Linked DNA regions of Homo sapiens: region 1 is linked to region 2. Evidence: promoter capture Hi-C in 16 types of primary human blood cells and fetal thymus (Javierre and others, 2016). All regions are on one chromosome and are shown on one strand. The core of a region is centred on a gene start or on the middle of the fragment in contact, and the rest is flanking DNA. Distances in the headings are between cores, read along the strand shown. Region 1 overlaps C10orf90 (chromosome 10 open reading frame 90). Region 2 holds the start of FANK1 (fibronectin type III and ankyrin repeat domains 1).

Evidence for each region. The method cuts DNA at HindIII sites, captures the fragments that hold promoters and counts their contacts. A CHiCAGO score of 5 or more calls a contact.
Region 1: a fragment that was not itself captured here is called in contact with the fragment with the promoter of FANK1 in region 2 in 1 of 17 cell types (M1 macrophages); the score reaches 5.3 in M1 macrophages.

What each region holds. Positions count from the first base shown.
Region 1 is chr10:126,499,279-126,502,092 of GRCh38, reverse strand. The region is part of intron 4 of C10orf90 (chromosome 10 open reading frame 90); the gene reads left to right. LOC105378549 (a long non-coding RNA gene) reads right to left here. Exons shown (of 3, transcript XR_001747637.3): 2 at 1,108-1,178. Among named protein-coding and RNA genes, the nearest start is that of LINC00601, 79 kb to the right of the region's middle. The HindIII fragment of the contact is 1,662 bases long and covers 533-2,194 here.
Region 2 is chr10:125,895,149-125,898,136 of GRCh38, reverse strand. FANK1 (fibronectin type III and ankyrin repeat domains 1) reads right to left here and starts at 1,573. Exons shown (of 11, transcript NM_145235.5): 1 at 1,482-1,573. The coding sequence starts at 1,494. It also overlaps a transcript of DHX32 not described here. RefSeq lists silencers at 1,003-1,297, 1,389-1,528, 1,689-1,768, 1,989-2,068. The HindIII fragment of the contact is 2,086 bases long and covers 481-2,566 here.

The DNA.
Region 1 (2,814 bases), core at 114-2,613, 600 kb before region 2:
GTTGTGTGGTGTGTGTGTGTGGTGTGTGTGTGCGTGTGTGTGGTGTGGGTGTGTGGTTGTGTGGTGTGTGTGTATGGTGTGTGTGTGTGGTGTGTGTGTATGCGTGTGTGGTGTGTGTGTGTGGTGTATATGTGGTGTGTGTGTGTGTGTTTATCCCTAGGCCCACCTCTCACCCTCCCCTTTCTGAGTCTCTGAAGTCCATCATATCACTCTGTATGCCTTTGCGTACTCATAGCTTAGCTCCCACTTATGAGAACATACGGTTTTTGGCTTTCCACTGCTATGTTACTTCACTTAGAATCATAGCCTCCAGCTTCAACCAAGTTGCTGCAAAAGACATGATTTCATTCCTTCTAATGGCTTAGTAGTAGTCCATGGTGTATATATAGACCACATTTGGAAGAACTTTTTGTGGAGTTGCTGATCTATTATTTCTAGCTCAGTGAATGTGGAGGAGTGATACTCTCTGAACTCCTCATCTGGGTAACTAGAGCAGGGGGTAGATTGGGTGTTTTCGAGGTCCCATCAAGCTTAAAAAATTTCAGCTCTATTTGCCCAAGGTGGACTCTGTAAAGAAAAGAGGCTCCGTGGGATTCTGGACCCCTCAGTTGCAAAGTCCAAAGCCACAGAGCCCTGGGGTGTGCTGTGGGGCACTTGCCTCGGATGCCTACAAATGCACACCTTCACCTACACGTGCACCCCTGGCTGTGTGCTCCCTCACTCAGAAATAATTTCCAGTGGACTCTATTTCTTCTCAGGTGACAAGAAAGCACATCTGTCCATGCTGTAGAATTCTGGCCTGAAATTTACCAGCACAGCTCATTGACTCTAATGACCACGGGCTGTCCTTGCACAGCCTGCACAACGTGTGGAGGGTGAGCTTGCTGACCTTCAGATTCCACAAAACCTTTAGCCTTAATGCAAGAGCTTTCAGACTGCAGCAGTGCTCATTAAAACTCAGAGGAACTGTTTATATTTTCCTGTCTGAAACTGGAATCCTATCTGAGACATTCTTGACAGCCTCCTGTGGTTACACATGCTATTAGCAGTCTTCTTACTTCATAGTTACTGAATCTGATTCTTTGTATCTGAAGGATTCCAAAATACCTCATGAGCAGGATCTTCTGTTGGCTGGCTTACTGACATTCAGCTGCTTGGTGGGTACAGCCTGGGCAATTCTACAAACAGAGGCAAAGCAATTTTAGTTCTAGTCATTAGGTCGTTGGACAGAAAGTTCTACAAATTGTATTCATGAATGAGCCTCCAGGATATGCACCCAAAAGAGAAGATGAGGAAAAATGAGACACAAGCACATCATGCAATTCAAATAGCTGTTTCTACTGAGACATAGCATTCCAATAGACGCGTGAGCACCTGCTCTCATCTCAGGCTGAATGTTAAGAAATTGGTTCTCTCTTTGCTCATCTCCTCAGTCCCTGTATGTTTTGTCTTTACATCTCTACTACTGGTAAGCATTCAGATAGCACCAAGTAGGTGGGCATTGGGCAAATCTTCGAATCTATCATAAAAAATTTAATCCCCATTCTTGTCATCATCACCATCATCATCGTCATCATCATCATCTTATTCATAACCACAACATATGTTCTAGAAGTCCTAGGCACCAGGCCCTGGGCTGCATCCATTATTTTGAATCATTCAACCATCTGTAAAGAGTATCATTATCTTTATTTTTCACACAACACAAATGAGGCTTGAAGATTAAATGATTTGCCCAAGTCCACGTGGCCAATTGGTGCTAGAGCTGTGTACTTGTCTCCTGCTGTTCCCTTCTCAGTGACAGCCCCAGGCAGGGCAATTAAGATGGTGGTGACTCAACGGCAGGCCCCACCTCCTCTGCCACTACCAAAGGTGGTATCTGAAGGCTGCTTATGAACATCTGGAGTAATACTGGTATTTGGTTGCCAGTTACCCCGGTAGACTATTAGGAGAGTGAACTGCAAGTTAATTTATGAAAAAATGTAATAAGCCATATCATTTTATGCGATTAAAATGTATTGGCTCAGAAATCCTCCTCAGCCTGAAATCCAGTTCTTTGTGGTGGTCTGTGAAATATACAGTGTTGATCCAAATGGTTCCCACCTCACCGGATGTGCATGCCTGACTCACTATTGACTTAGACACATTTCTTACTGCCAATTTTATTGTGCATCTGTGGCTTAAATCTGAAGCTTTTTACCATTTCTGAGATATCCAAGTAGAGGGAGCAAAATCTTCTGATGATGGTAGATGCTATTGAAGAGGAGACTAGTGAATACGCTGTCCACATCTATTTGCGTTCGCGTTCTATGGTGGGCCCATGTTGCAACTCCCTCAGTCAGTTCACAGGCTTTGGTGGCATTGGTCTGAGATGTCCTCGGTGGAGTTTAGCATCACTAGTGAATAAAGATGTGGATGACTGGAAGGCAGAAGTCCTTGCCAGGTCTCCAAATGAGCACTGTGCCTACTCACACTTAGATGGTATGGTCTGCCACATTAATAGCGAGTGAGGCTTATCTCACTTACGCCACTCAAGGGCAGATAACAAACCATGTACACACAAGCCAAGCCTACCTGTAGGGGAGAAGCCTGCATTAGACTCCCACTCTCATCCCATGAGGACTTTTTTTACTAGAGGGACCAGAAGATATTTTACAAATGTGATTTTTTTTCTTCAATGATCTAGAATTGGGATCAGCAAACTTTTCTTTTTCCCTTTTGTTTGTGAAGGGCCAGATTGAAAATATGTGTTTGGCTTTGCGGGCCATATGGTTTCTGTAGCAACTACTCAACTAGCAACAGTGTTCAGATACC
Region 2 (2,988 bases), core at 324-2,823:
GGCCTCACTGCAACCTCCGCCTCCCGGGTTCAAGCGATTCCCCTGCCTCGGCCTCAGCGTCCCAAATAGCTAGGACTCCAGGCACGCGCCACCACACCTGGCTTTTTTTTTTTTTTTTTTTTTTTTTTTTTTTTTTTTGTATTTTAGTAGAGATGGGTTTCACTATGCTGGCCAAGATGGTCTCAATCTCCTGACCTCGTGATCCGCCTGCCTCAGCCTCCCAAAGTGCTGGGATTACAGGCGTGAGCCACCGGGCCAGGCCAAGTTGCTGTTTTTAAAAGGTATATTTCAACTCACTTCTCTAAGGCGGGAATATACACAGCCTGCCATCAGTTTGACATAAAACAAAAATTTTAGCGTTCTTGTATGCTAAATTTCTTTTACTAGGTTAAAAAAATGTAGAATCCAAAGAGCTGTAAATGCAAATGACAAATACTGTACAAAATCTATCAAGCAACTATAAGTCACAACTTGCAAGCTTTCTCCTCAGCAAATGAGTTAAAAGGAAAAGTATTTGAAACTTTCTTGGTGGAAAACGAATGACCTTTAAAAATGCCAACATTTTCCCCAGAGAATAGATTTGGTCTGAGTTCTTCATTTCTGAAATTGTACAAGATAAGACGACTTGGTTTGAGAGTCAAACTGCATCCTTCTATAAAGGTTTTAGATAAATTTTAAGTCTCCATACAAAACACTCCCCTTATTTTGAGAACAAAAGGAACAATAAGACAGCTTAGGCGGGGCAGAGAAAGAAAGGCCTTGAAACAAAGTCCCTGGAAAGGTAAAAACAACAACAAAAATAGTAAGTTAGAGCTCGTGTTTAGATCTGATAACTCAAAACTGCACAACTTTTGCCATACATCGAAAGCAACATGGGAAAACAGAAAAAGAGATTACAAACATTTTTTGAGTGTCCTAACTTGTAGAACCCCTAAGAATGAATCAAATACACTTGGACAAAGCTCTTCTTTTCTCTCTCTCTCCTTCAAGTCGCAGACTAGGGGTGTGGGGCGGGGGGCGGGGAGTAAGACGGGGTCTCTAATAAATACAAGACCCAGCCTCGGACGTGTTTAATTGCTGACATTTTAGAAGAAAAATGGGCTACTTACAATTAATGAACCAAACTACCAAACTAAAATCATGAGTAGGAGGAGGAGTAAATGGAACCGTCCGGGCGAAGTTTCAGGAAGACGCACGCTGGGGTCGCTGCGCCCTTCCCCACCCATACCTCGGGGCTCTCCAGTCGCTCCCAGCCCCCAGCGCGGACTCTAGGGCGCCGGCGGCCCAACCATACAGACTTGGCAGGATGTAGCCCCCTTCTCCCCTCTCCAGGAGAGAAAAGCGCGAGGAGACGCAAACCGTATTTCCGTGTCCGAGCGTTGAAACCTGCGGAGTCGCGCGCGGGGCGCCCACACTCGTTCCCGGGGAGCCCCAGCCCGGTCGCCCGCCCCGGTCCCAGCTCCAGCCCGGGCCTCCCTTACTCTGGGGCTCCATGGTCGGCTGCTCCCCGGCCTCCGCGGGCGAACCCCCGGACTCCTAACGCCTCTCAGCCAGGGCCGGCGTCGCTACGGTTGCCCTGACAACCCGGAGGCGAAGTGGGCAGAACTAAAGGGACGGCGAGCGGGAGGGACCAAAAGCCGCAGGAAGTGAGGGAGCGCGTGAGGACCCGCGCGTCGCCGGGGACACTGAGCGAGGGTAGCGGCCAGGTCACCGGCTGAGGACACTGCTCCTGAAGCCCGGTCAGGCGGTCGCGCCCTCCCTGGCGGCCCCCGCGGCCCCGCAGGACCTGTGCCCCGACGTCGCCGACCCGCGGTCCCCGCTGTCGCCGACCCGCGGCGTCCGTCGGGCGAGTGGGCCTGCCCGCGGGTAAGGCGCCGGCCCTGGGCCGCCCTCCCGGGAATCGGGAGCCGCCGCTGCAGGTAACAGCGGGGCCCCGGCGGCGGAAGGGGTCGGGGGTCGGCGCAGGGGCGGGCGCGCCCCGAGCCGGGTGGGCGGCCCCGGCGCACCTGTTGTAGCCGCCTGGGGGTCCCCTGCCCGCAGTTGGCCGTGGACGTTCCCCGCCCCGACTCCGAAACGCCGAGGGCGGCCTCCGCGCCTCCTGCTCCGGGAGCCGCGCCTCAGCGGGAGGACGGAGCCCTGCGGGCAGCCCTCGCACCAGGGGCTCCCTCCGAGCCCGGGCATGGGCCGGGCCTGGGGCGGTCCCTCGAGCCCCCCTGACGGGAAGCGTGGAGCAATGCGAGCCGCCGCCGTCGTCGCTGTCGTCCCCAGTGAGCCTGGCGCGTCTCCTGAATCGCGAGAGCCAGGAGCACGGTTTTGCCCGGCTTTGCCCCGTCATCCCCGTGTCCCATTTCAGGCAGGGGGCCCGGGTTGGATCTTTCTCGCTGGCTTCGTTTTTTGTGTGTTGATTTGTTTCAGTCCTTCGCGTTTCCGGTTGAGTTACGGAATCTGCCCACACGTTTTGTGGCCAAACTTTGTAGGGCTGTGAAACAATGTAACATTATCCCACACAATAGTCTTTCATACTGGTTTTAAAACACAGTGATTCAGGGTTTGCTTTAAGGAAGCTTTGAGGATCACAAGAGATTATTATCTGGTAGGTTGTAAAAATTCAAACAACCAGGAGAGTATCATAGGTTCCGGAACACCAGAAGGAGGAAAGAAAAATGGAGACGAGAGAAAAAGGATAAGCAAGAAAGTGCAGGGGCATTAAGGGTGTGGGGGGCTGCAGGATTGATTTGGTATTCAGGTCTGGAGATTATGGCCCCTCTATTAATTCCAACCGCTGCTCCAGACAGTACTTGAGGGAAATGGAAGGAAGAGCCGTTTTGGGGGTCATGGAAGTGATTACTAATCTTGCCAGTAGAAAGATTTCCACTCCATGGATGACAAGGACACTAAGGAGAATTACTTTCCTCTTAGGGAATCATTGAGAGGTTAATTGAACTTGAGAAGCATATATTCTGTGATGGAAACTGACATTTATTATAT